2 separate regions of the Homo sapiens genome follow, and region 1 is linked to region 2. The links are contacts of gene promoters, found by promoter capture Hi-C in human tissues and cell types (Jung and others, 2019). All regions are on one chromosome and are shown on one strand. The core of a region is centred on a gene start or on the middle of the fragment in contact, and the rest is flanking DNA. Distances in the headings are between cores, read along the strand shown.

What was found. The method cuts DNA at HindIII sites, captures the fragments that hold promoters and counts their contacts. A contact is called where the count stands out against the background at its distance.
Region 1: the fragment with the promoter of CYP4F11 here is called in contact with the fragment with the promoter of CYP4F12 in region 2 in 4 of the 25 tissues and cell types used here (IMR-90 fibroblasts, lymphoblastoid cells, small bowel and 1 more).

What each region holds. Positions count from the first base shown.
Region 1 is chr19:15,930,879-15,936,540 of GRCh38, forward strand. It overlaps CYP4F11 (cytochrome P450 family 4 subfamily F member 11), which reads right to left and starts at 3,651. Exons shown (of 12, transcript NM_021187.4): 1 at 3,333-3,651. The coding sequence starts at 3,530. The HindIII fragment of the contact is 18,991 bases long and covers 1-5,662 here.
Region 2 is chr19:15,668,283-15,674,909 of GRCh38, forward strand. CYP4F12 (cytochrome P450 family 4 subfamily F member 12) reads left to right here and starts at 4,805. Exons shown (of 13, transcript NM_023944.4): 1 at 4,805-4,853; 2 at 5,247-5,445. The coding sequence starts at 5,248. The HindIII fragment of the contact is 17,744 bases long and covers 1-6,627 here.

The DNA.
Region 1 (5,662 bases), core at 2,401-4,900, 260 kb after region 2:
GAGTGACTCTTAACTGTCTACAGTAAGCACCTCCTGCAGGCCAGGCTCTGTGCTAGTGTGTCCTATTCACCCTCCACTGCACCGATGGACACGCCCATCAATTTTGCCATTTACAAGTGAGCAGACCAAGGCCATGTCCCCCAAATGGGAGAGCAGGTCTAAGTCGGAGGCCAAGGTCTGCGGAGTCAAGGACAGCTTCTGAAAAGAGAAGGGAGTGGCCAACTTTTATTCAGGCAGGTAACAAGGCCGACTGGGACATGTTAGTGAGGAAGAGCAAGATAGGAGGAAGGTGCCTCCAGAAAAGGAGGCAGCGGGAGACTGCCCACACTTCTCTTCTGGACCCTCTGTGTCCCTGCGTATGGAAAGGGGCTCAGAGCTAATTCCTGTGAGAAAGCAGCAGCACAGAGATGGGCAGACACAAGCAAATGGGCCAGGCAGGGAGTAGTCCCTGGACAGTAGACTCAGGAGGCCTCAAGTCCAGCAGTGGAGAAGGTGCAAATGCCAGGAGATCTTTGCTCTGTGCACCCATACCACTCCCACAGGAGACCCTCAGAGGTGCAGTAACACAGGGAAGACAGGCAGGAAAAAGATCCAAGCAGGCTGGAGTGGGAGGACAGGGAGGTGAGAAAGACTTGGGATGGCACATCAGAGGAATGAGTGAGCGGGGAGAGGAATGAGTGAGCGAGGAGAGGAATGAGTGAGCGAGGAGAGGAATGAGTGAGTGAGGAGAGGAATGAGTGAGCGAGGAGAGGAATGAGTGAGCGAGGAGAGGAATGAGTGAGCGAGGAGAGGAATGAGTGAGCGAGGAGAGGAATGAGTGAGCGAGGAGAGGAATGAGTGAGCGAGGAGAGGAATGAGTGAGTGAGGAGAGGAATGAGTGAGTGAGGAGAGGAATGAGTGAGTGAGGAGAGGAATGAGTGAGTGAGGAGAGGAATGAGTGAGTGAGGAGAGGAATGAGTGAGTGAGGAGAGGAATGAGTGAGTGAGGAGAGGAATGAGTGAGTGAGGAGAGGAATGAGTGAGTGAGGAGAGGAATGAGTGAGTGAGGAGAGGAATGAGTGAGTGAGGAGAGGAATGAGTGAGTGAGGAGAGGAATGAGTGAGTGAGGAGAGGAATGAGTGAGTGAGGAGAGGAATGAGTGAGTGAGGAGAAGAATGAGTGAGTGAGGAGAGGAATGAGTGAGTGAGGAGAAGAATGAGTGAGTGAGGAGAGGAATGAGTGAGTGAGGAGAAGAATGAGTGAGTGAGGAGAGGAATGAGTGAGTGAGGAGAAGAATGAGTGAGTGAGGAGAGGAATGAGTGAGTGAGGAGAGGAATGAGTGAGCGAGGAGAGGAATGAGTGAGCGAGGAGAGGAATGAGTGAGCGGGGAGAGGAATGAGTGAGTGGGGAGAGGAATGAGTGAGTGAGGAGAGGAATGAGTGAGCGAGGAGAGGAATGAGTGAGCGAGGAGAGGAATGAGTGAGCGAGGAGAGGAATGAGTGAGCGGGGAGAGGAATGAGTGAGCGGGGAGAGGAATGAGTGAGTGAGGAGAGGAATGAGTGAGCGAGGAGAGGAATGAGTGAGCGGGGAGAGGAATGAGTGAGCGGGGAGAGGAATGAGTGAGTGAGGAGAGGAATGAGTGAGTGAGGAGAGGAATGAGTGAGTGAGGAGAAGAATGAGTGAGTGAGGAGAAGAATGAGTGAGTGAGGAGAGGAATGAGTGAGTGAGGAGAGGAATGAGTGAGTGAGGAGAGGAATGAGTGAGTGAGGAGAGGAATGAGTGAGTGAGGAGAGGAATGAGTGAGTGAGGAGAGGAATGAGTGAGTGAGGAGAGGAATGAGTGAGTGAGGAGAGGAATGAGTGAGTGAGGAGAGGAATGAGTGAGTGAGGAGAGGAATGAGTGAGTGAGGAGAGGAATGAGTGAGTGAGGAGAGGAATGAGTGAGTGAGGAGAGGAATGAGTGAGTGAGGAGAGGAATGAGTGAGTGAGGAGAGGAATGAGTGAGTGAGGAGAGGAATGAGTGAGTGAGGAGAGGAATGAGTGAGTGAGGAGAGGAATGAGTGAGTGAGGAGAGGAATGAGTGAGTGAGGAGAAGAATGAGTGAGTGAGGAGAGGAATGAGTGAGTGAGGAGAGGAATGAGTGAGTGAGGAGAGGAATGAGTGAGTGAGGAGAGGAATGAGTGAGTGAGGAGAGGAATGAGTGAGTGAGGAGAGGAATGAGTGAGTGAGGAGAAGAATGAGTGAGTGAGGAGAGGAATGAGTGAGCGAGGAGAGGAATGAGTGAGCGGGGAGAGGAATGAGTGAGTGGGGAGAGGAATGAGTGAGTGAGGAGAGGAATGAGTGAGTGAGGAGAGGAATGAGTGAGTGAGGAGAGGAATGAGTGAGCGGGGAGAGGAATGAGTGAGCGAGGAGAGGAATGAGTGAGTGAGGAGAGGAATGAGTGAGTGAGGAGAGGAATGAGTGAGTGAGGAGAAGAATGAGTGAGTGAGGAGAAGAATGAGTGAGTGAGGAGAGGAATGAGTGAGTGAGGAGAGGAATGAGTGAGTGAGGAGAGGAATGAGTGAGTGAGGAGAAGAATGAGTGAGTGAGGAGAGGAATGAGTGAGTGAGGAGAAGAATGAGTGAGTGAGGAGAGGAATGAGTGAGTGAGGAGAAGAATGAGTGAGTGAGGAGAGGAATGAGTGAGTGAGGAGAAGAATGAGTGAGTGAGGAGAGGAATGAGTGAGTGAGGAGAAGAATGAGTGAGTGAGGAGAAGAATGAGTGAGTGAGGAGAGGAATGAGTGAGTGAGGAGAAGAATGAGTGAGTGAGGAGAGGAATGAGTGAGTGAGGAGAAGAATGAGTGAGTGAGGAGAAGAATGAGTGAGTGAGGAGAGGAATGAGTGAGTGAGGAGAAGAATGAGTGAGTGAGGAGAGGAATGAGTGAGTGAGCAGAGGAATGAGTGAGTGAGGAGAAGAATGAGTGAGTGAGGAGAAGAATGAGTGAGTGAGGAGAGGAATGAGTGAGTGAGCAGAGGAATGAGTGAGCGAGAAGAGGAATGAGTGAGTGGGCAGAGGAATGAGTGAGCGGGGAGAGGAATGAGTGAGCGGGGAGAGGAATGAGTGAGCGGGGAGAGGAATGAGTGAGCGGGGAGAGGAATGAGTGAGTGGGCAGAGGAATGAGTGAGTGGGCAGAGGAATGAGTGAGCGGGGAGAGGAATGAGTGAGTGGGCAGAGGAATGAGTGAGCTGCCTCCCTCTCTTCTCTGTGTTCCCACACCCCAGCCACCCTCAAAACCCAGCTCCCTGAGCCCCATTCCTGCCCCTCAGGAACTCCATGCATCCTGAGACCCCAGACCCGTCCTGCTGACAAACTCACCAGGCCCTGGTGTCCCCAAAACCAGTTCTGTTTCGGGGGTTGAGGAAAACACTGGAGGCGGCGGCAGTTGTCATAGAAGGTGTAGGTCCAGGCCAGGACGCGGGCCAGGAGCCAGGAGCCTCCAACCAGCAGCAGAAGCAGCCACGGGGATGCTGCCACGGGCCCGAGGCCCAGCCAGGACAGGCTCAGCTGCGGCATCCTGCAGGGCAGACGGGATGGAGGGTGGGATCCTGAGGCCCAGGGAAGGGCCCAGGAAGCTCCAAGGACAGTGGAAAGGGGCAAGGATGGGCAGTGCTGGAGGCAGATCAGGGAAGGCTCTGAGATGGGTAAACAAGAGCTGAGATCTAAAGTCCAGAAATGCCCAATGAAAACCAGCAGCCAAGTGGCCTCCAGTTACACAGAAAGGGAAAGAGAGAGAGAGGCTGATTAGAATCCAAAAAGGCCCAGCCTGAATCACTGGGAGGTTGCCAGGGGTCCAGTTACCAGGAAATCACCAGTCTCCCAGGCCAGCAGCCTTGACCCACCCCAACCTTGGGCAGTCCCCTCCCCATCCCAGGCCAGGACCCTCCAGCCCTGCCACTGCCAGCCTGGCTCCTATCAGAAGCAGCTTGTCCCACATACCCTCCTCTCCCCCTCTGCTAGGAGGTCTTTGCCTCTGGCCCCTGATTTCCGGAAGGCTGTGGGAGGCGAGGCTGGGCTGGGCTGGTCGAGCCAATCCCCATGGACTGGGTGTGTCTTCCAAGCCTGGGCAACCAACCAAAACCTGGCGTAGGGCCAGCTGGGTGCAGAGGAGCCAGCTCAGGGTGACACAGCATGGGCACAGGATCCGCAGGTCTCAACATCTCACACCTGAGTGGGAGGGGATCTTGAGGAAGAGTCAAAGGTGACTCTGAGCCCCAAAGTTTACAGCCACCTTGCCCTTCCAAGGCAAGAGTGTGGCAGATAAAGTCATGAACTTGAGAGTTCAGGTGGCAAGAGAGTGGGGCCAGGCCAACCATTGTGCCAGATCATGTTCTGAGCTCCTCTCCACATGTGGTCCAGGAGTTCATCATGCACCATTTCTCAGTGCAGACTTAGGAGATTCAGAGACAGAAGCTCCTGGCCTCTGGCTTCACAGTCTGGCAGGAGTTCAAGTCCTGCCTCCAGGCAACCCAGGGCCTGGGTCGAGACATGACTGACAGGAGTAGGAACAAACTATCTAACTGTGCTGGGGATTACCCGGTCAGATTTTAGAGATAAAGAGCCCCGCTGGAGGAGAATACCTGGAGGCTAGGTTCAGCATAGGAGGACAGAGAGGGGAGATGGGAGGTAAGGCTGAGAGGGGCCATGAGTGGATGGGGCCAGGGACAGGAGGGCAGAGATGGGGGACCCTGAGTGGAGTCCTTATTCTGCCCTCCCCTTGCCCTAACTGTGGGTAGTGAGCCCCTCCTGGACTCAGGCTTCCCATCTGGGAAATGGGATGTCAGATAAGGCCTTAGAGGGGGACAGAGGAGGGATCACAGGAAAATGGGCCTTAGATGGGGACAGATGAAAGATTCTGAGGAGGGAGTGAAGGGAAGGGGCTGGCAGCTAGCACTTTAGCTGCTGTGTGTCAGTCTCTGCTCTTTGCAAAAGACAATATGCAAAGTTCTTTTACTGTGTACTGGACTCTAAATAAAGCACACCTACCATGTGCCAGGTACTCTGTATACATGTTGTGTACTGTGTGCCAAGTGCTCTATGAAAAGTGTGTCCACTGTGTGCTGGGCGCTCTACAGAAAATCTTGCTTCTTTGTTCTCGGTCCTCTATATAAAGTGAAATTTGTGCGGAGTAACTTATGTAAAGTGTACCTACTCTGCACCTGCTGCTCTATATAAAACACACCTACTGTGTGTCAGATGTTCTATGTAGAGCATGTTTACTACGTGCCTGGTGATCTATGTCAAGTGCACCTACTGTGTGTCAAGTGCTCTACATAAAGCGTGCCTACTCTGGGTGCTGGGTACTCTTCATAAACTGTGACTCCATGTGTCCGGTACTCTACATAAAGCACACCTACTGTATGCCAGATGCTCTACATAAAGTGTTCTTTCTGTGTGTCAAGTGCTCTACATAAAGCGTGCCTACTCTGGATGCTGGGTACTCTTCATAAACTCTGACTCTGTGTGGCCGGTACTCTACATAATGCACACCTACTGTGTGCCAGATGCTCTATATAAAGTGTTTTTTCTGTGTGTCAAGTGCTCCACATAAAGTAAAACTACTCTATGTAAAGTTCTTGACATAAAGAATGCCTACTGTGTGCAAGGCACTCTCCACAAAGCACTCCTACTATGTGGCAGGGGCTCTA
Region 2 (6,627 bases), core at 3,555-6,054:
ATCTCGGCTCACTGCAACCCCTGCCTCCTGGGTTCAAGTGATTCTGCTTCAGCCTCCTGAGTAGCTGGGACTACGAGTGCCCGCCACCACGCCCAGCTAATTTTTGTATTTTTAGTAGAGATGGGATTTCACCATGTTGGCCAGGGTGCGCTAGATCTTCTGACCTTGTGATCTGCCTGCCTTGACCTCCCAAAGTGCAGGGATTACAGGAGTGAGCCACGGTGCCCAGCGTCTTTGTCTGTTTCTATTTATGTCTACATCTACATCTTTCCCTACGTTTATGACTTTGCCTATGTCTATACCTTTGTCTATGTCTATATCTTTGTCTATATTTGTGTCTGTGTCTATGTCTATATCTATGTCTTTCTCTATGTTTATGTCTATGTCTTTTTCTGTCCATGACTTTTTCTATTGTGACAGATGTCTATTGTAACAAGTGCATTGAACACCTGGATCACAGCAGCCCATTTATTGCTCACAGTGACACTAGCAGCCGGAGTAGGATTGTAGCATTGGCTTTCATTCCCAAATCACATTTCTCCAAGAGCAATGCAATGTTTTTATCTGTATGTGGAACAGTGTTTGCGCCCTAGGAGAGGGGCTCCACATTACGAGTCTTGGCACATTTTCTATTTATTTTCTCGACAGAGAGAGAGAGAGAGAGAGAGAGAGAGCGAGAGCAAGAGAGAGTGCTTTATTCTGAAGCATAAACCAATTCTCTCCAGTGAGATGTAATAGTCTGTAGACTTACAACACAAATGTCTTCAGGGGAAATAAATAAGATTGTCTGCATTTACCACACTGGAATGTGAGTATACATCTTTGGAGCAATACTTAATCTCTAACTTCCAAGGCGAATTGTTATTTAATTATCCTGTAAGCTCATTTGCCAGTAACTTTTTCTCAGAAAGTTCTCAACATGTAGAAACATGAAAATATTCATGTGTCGTTGATTCTTCCCACCAGGGACAAAAGAAGAAGGAAGGAAGCCAGTGAGGAAGATTGCATGGTGTGGGCTCTGGTGATGGTGACCAAGAGACATCTAGGAGTGCAAGCTGGGCTTGGGTTTCTGGAAAGAGGATGGATCTTCAGAGTTTATTTCATGTTAGACTGAGGAGTCCTCAGAGCTTGTGTGGTTTTCAAGGGTGTTTTTCCTTCTCTCCAGGATGAAGATGGGAAGGAGTTGTCTGATGAGGACATAAGAGTGTAGGCTGACACCTTCATGTTTGAGGGAGAGGATCCCAGTGAGGACCAAGATGTCTCATCCCAGGGACGTGGTGGGTGGACCCTGGATGGCTTCACCCTTCCCATCCCCCTTCCCCCATCCTCTCTGAGGCCCTCAATCCATGGGTGCTGTCCACCCTGTTGTGCTGAAGCAGCCCAGAGACCCAAGACTGCCTGGCTGCCCCTCAGGCTATGACACCAGGACCAGTGGTCTCTCCTGGGTCCAGTACAACCTTGCAATGCACCCAGAATGCCAGGAGCGCTGCGGGCAGGAAAGGCAAGAGTTTCTGAAGGTCTGGGAGCCTAAAGAGATTGAATGGTGAGTGCAGGTGCTGGTGGCTGTTCCTGAGCTCCATGACTCATGTTGGCAATGCCGATGGCTCTGCTCCCCAGGTGGGGATGGGAGGAGGAGTTGTTTTTGTCTATTCTGCTACTATTGCTTAGTGGGAGTAGGAGTAGAGGATGACAGGCAAGGCTTAATACCCAGTCTGGCTATCAGGGGAGAAGTTGCAGGCTGTTTGGACAGCAAAGATCTGCTCTGCTGAGAGAATTGGTGACAACATGTGAGGGGAGATGATGCCACTTAACACATGTTTAGTAGATGAACTTCCCCTTTACTCCCTTCTTTTTATCCCTGAAATGTCATTTTGCATGCATAATCTGTTTTCGTTATTGCAACAACCTTGTGAGGTGCTGCTGCTGAAACGCCCATTTACGGACGTGAAGGAGCACAGCCTGGTGGTGAGGGGGGCACAATGTGAGGCTGGGTGGGTGGTCTGGGTGCACAGCCCAGATCCACCAGCTCTATGACTGTGGGTAGTCACTCAAATATTTTCCAGACTGGATTTCTCATTTGTAAAATGGAAAAACAAAATGGTTAATATAGTTAAAAGACTTAAAACAGGCTCCATGACTCATGTTGGCAATGTCGATGGCCGCCATTCCTGCTCTAACCTGCTTGCCCATCCCAGGCACACAGGAGGTCTGCAGTGAGCTGAGCCCCTCTAGCCACTGGGGGCACTTTCTTCTGTGTCCCTAGGACCCTGCCTGTTCATCAACCCCTGGCTTTGCTCCCTGAGCCTAAGAAGGATGGAACCACCAGCAGGTGAGGTCTGTCCTTGCAGAGGTAGTGGGGATTTTGGGGGATGCACCCTACGCGAATGAAGCTGTAGGACCAGGTGCCTGAATCCCCTGGCTGATTGAGCTGGCAGGGGTGGTGGGGTGGGGGTGGTCTAGGGGCTCCCCAGTACCCAGCCAGTGTCAGGAGTACTGTCTTCCCCACCCTCCTGCTCAGCAGTTCTGCTAGGAGCCCCCTCCTTCAAGCGCCCCCCTCACCTGAGTCCACCCCACAGGACAATTCAGGACAGGATCTAGGGAGGGCCAGGAGGGGAGCCCTGGATCTGTTGGGAGGAGAATCCTGCATGTGGGAGAAGGAGCCAGGTGCTGATCCAAGGGCCTCAAGATATTTCCCCTTTGGGGCTATCACACTGCCTGAGATTACTCCATTATAAATGTCCCTATATTAATATGGCATTGACACTAAAGAATGGGGGTGGAGCAGCATGGCAGAGGGAACGGATTTGGACTTGAGGGTCTCATAGTCTTGAGTTCCTATGAGCTCTGCAACTTGGACTAGAGGCCTGCCCTCTCTGAGCCTCAGTTTGCTTTTGTGTTAAATGGACACCTTCTCTCCTCTGGATGCCATCACTCAGGTCTCTTCAACAATGCCCAGGGTTCTGGCCTAGGGAGCTGTTGGGAGGGTGGTGGGACAGCTTTGGGCACTGTGATGCAGGTGAGCATCTGATACAAGCAGGTGCACGTTATATAGAGCACCTGGCACATAGTAGGTGCACCTTATGTAGAGCACCTGGCACACAGTAGGTGTACTTTATGTGGCGTACCTAGCACATAGTAGGTACACTTTATGCGGCATACCTGGCACACAGTAGGTGCTCTTTATGTAGCATATCTGGCACACAATAAGGCACACTTTATATAGTGTACCTGGCACACAGTATGTGTGCTTTATGTCAAGTATGTTGCACCGAGTAGTTTTACTTTATGTAGGGGACCTAACACACGGGAGAAGCATTTTATGTGGAACATCTGGCACACAGTAGGTGTGCTTTATTTAGAGCACCTGGCACACAGCAAGCATGGTTTATATAAAGGGCCAGGGACTCAAGATACAGGATTTGTGAAGGGCTCCCAGCATACAGTAGACAGTATTTATGTGGAGCTCCTGGCACACAGTAGGTGCACTATATGTAGAATAGCCAGCACACAGTAGACAAGATTTATGTAGATTACTTGATGCAGAGTAGGTGCGCTTTCTGTGGGTCACCAGGTACGTAGTACACATGCTCAATGTGGAGCACCTGACACACAGTAGGTATGCTTTATATACAGCACATGGCACAGAGTAGGCACGCTTTATATGAAGTACTCTGCATAAAGTAAGCTTACATTATGTACAGCATGCTGCACACAGTAGGTGAGCTTTATGTGGCATACCTGGCACATAGTAGACAGAATTTATGTACAGTATCTGATACACAGTAAGTGCACTTTATATAGTGAAACTGGCACACAGTAGGTGCACACAGTAGTGCTTTCCGTACAGTCTTTCGCATGGAGTAGAGACAGGCACACAGCAGCTCAAGTGCTAGTTGTCATCCCCTTCCCTTCAGTCCCTCTTTTTGGAGCTCCCTTTTCTTAGGAGCCTTCCTCCGTCGCCCTCTAAGGCCTCATCTGACATCCCATTTCCCAGATGGGAAGCCTGAGCCCAGGATGGCCACACTGCCCACAGTCAGAGAAAGGACAGGGCAGAACAAGGACTCCACTCGGGATCCCCTTGCTCTGCCCTCCCCTGCCTGGACCCCGTCAGCTCAAGGCCCCTCTCAGCCTCATCCCCTGTGCCTCCGCTCTGTCCTCCTAAGCTGAGCCCAGCTTCTAGGTTTGCTCCTCCAGCTGGGCTCTTTATCCCCAGAATCTGACGAAGGTAATCCTCAGCGGGGTTGGGGCTGGATTCTTTCTTCCTGCTTCAAGCAGTCAGGCCTCAACTCAGGCCCTGGGCTGCCAGGAGGCAGGACTTGAACTCTTGCCAGGCTGTGAAGCCAGAGATGAGAGGCTTCTGTCTCTGAATCTCCTAAGTCTGCACCAAGATGTAGTGCCTGACATCCTCCCCGCCCATGTTTGGAGAGGAGCCCAGATGATCTGGGACAAGGGTTGGCCTGGCCCAGCTCAGCTGGCTGCCAACTGTCATGATAAGTATATGCTTTTATCTGAACACCCTTGTCTTGGAAGGGCAGGGTGGAGGTAAACTTGGGGTTCAGAGTCCCCTCTAACCACCCTCCAACTTCCCCTGCAAACTCCCAAGAAGGTACTGAGACCTGAGAATTCAGTGCTCGTGCTGGGGCACCCTGAGCTGCACCCAGTGGGCCCAACCCCAGGTTTTGGCTGGCTGCCCAGGCACGGAAGACACACCCAGGCTGTGGGGATTGGCTGCCTCAGCCCAGCCCAGCCCAGCCCCGCCTCCTACGGCCTTCCCTAGATCAGGGGCCAGGGCCAAAGACCTCCCAGCAGAAGAGGAGAAGAGGTTGTGTGGGACAAGCTGCTCCCGACAGAAGGTACCAGGCTGGGGGTGGCAGGGCTGGAAGGTCCTGGCCTGGGATGAAGAGGGGACTGCCTAAGGCTGGGGTGGCTCCAAGATGCTGGCATGGGAAACTGGGGGTTTCCTGGTAACTGGACTCCTAGCAAACTCCCAAGGATTCAGGTGGGGCCCTTCTGGACTCTAATCGGCCCATCTCTTTCCCTTTCTGTGTGGTTACCAGGTTACTGGAGGCCACTTAGTTGTTGGTTTTGGTTGGGACTTTCTGGACTTCAGATCTCAGCCCTCGTTTACTCACCCCTGAGCCCTCCCTGCCCTGCCCCCAGCAGTTCCTGACTTCGCCCCTATACACTGTCCCCGGAGCTCTTCCCTGGGCCTCAGGTCCTCACCCTGCATCCCCTCTGCCCTGCAGGATGTCGCTGCTGAGCCTGCCCTGGCTGGGCCTCAGACCGGTGGCAACGTCCCCATGGCTACTCCTGCTGCTGGTTGTGGGCTCCTGGCTACTCGCCCGCATCCTGGCTTGGACCTATGCCTTCTATAACAACTGCCGCCGGCTCCAGTGTTTCCCACAGCCCCCAAAACGGAACTGGTTTTGGGGTCACCTGGGCCTGGTGAGTGTGACAGCAAAATGTGTCTGGGGTCTCAGGGTGGATGGACTTCCAGAGGAGCAGGAATGGGGCTCAGTGAGCTAGGTATTGATGGTGGCTGGGGTCTGCGACCCCAGAGAAGCAAGAGAGATGGCTCACTCATTCCTCTGCTAACTCACTCATTCCTCTACCCACTCACTCCTCTACCCACTCACTCACTCCTCTACCCACTCACTCACTCCTCTACCCACTCACTCATTCCTCTACCCACTCACTCATTCCTCTACCCACTCACTCCTCTACCCACTCACTCACTCCTCTACCCACTCACTCACTCCTCTCCTCACTCACTCATTCCTCTCCTCACTCACTCATTCCTCTACCCACTCACTCACTCCTTTCCTCACTCACTCACTCCTCTCCTCACTCACTCATTCCTCTCCTCACTCACTCATTCCTCTCCTCACTCACTCATTCCTCTACCCACTCACTCACTCCTCTACCCACTCACTCAATCCTCTACCCACTCACTCACTCCTCTACCCACTCACACATTGCCCTCCTCACTCACTCATTCCTCTCCTCACTCACTCATTCCCCTCCTCACTCATTCCTCTCCTCACTCACTCATTCCTCTACCCACTCACTCATTCCTCTCCTCACTCACTCATTCCTCTACCCACTCACTCATTCCTCTCCTCACTCACTCATTCCTCTCCTCACTCGCGCATTCCTCTCATTCGCGCATTCCTCTCATTCACTCATTCCTCTCCTCACTCACTCATTCCTCTCCTCACTCTTATTCGTCTGCTCACTCACTCATTCCTCTGCTCACTCATTCCTCTCCTCATTCACTCCTTCCCCTCATCACTCACTCATTCCTCTGCCCACTCACTCATTCCTCTACCCATTCACTTATTCCTCTATCCACTCACTTTTTGCTCTCCCCACTCACTCATTCCTCTCCTCACTCACTCATTCCTCTCCTCATTCACTGATTCCTCTACCCACCGACTCATTCCTTTCCTCATTCATTCATTCCTCTGCAGTTCCATGCCAAACCTTTCTCACCTCCCTGTCCTCCCACCTCAGCCTGCTTGGATCCTTTTCCTGCCTGTCTTCCCTACCGTAGTGCCCCTCCCAGAGGCTCCTGTATGGTTGTGGGGTGCACAGAGCAGGGCTCTCCTGGCATTCCCACCTTCTCCA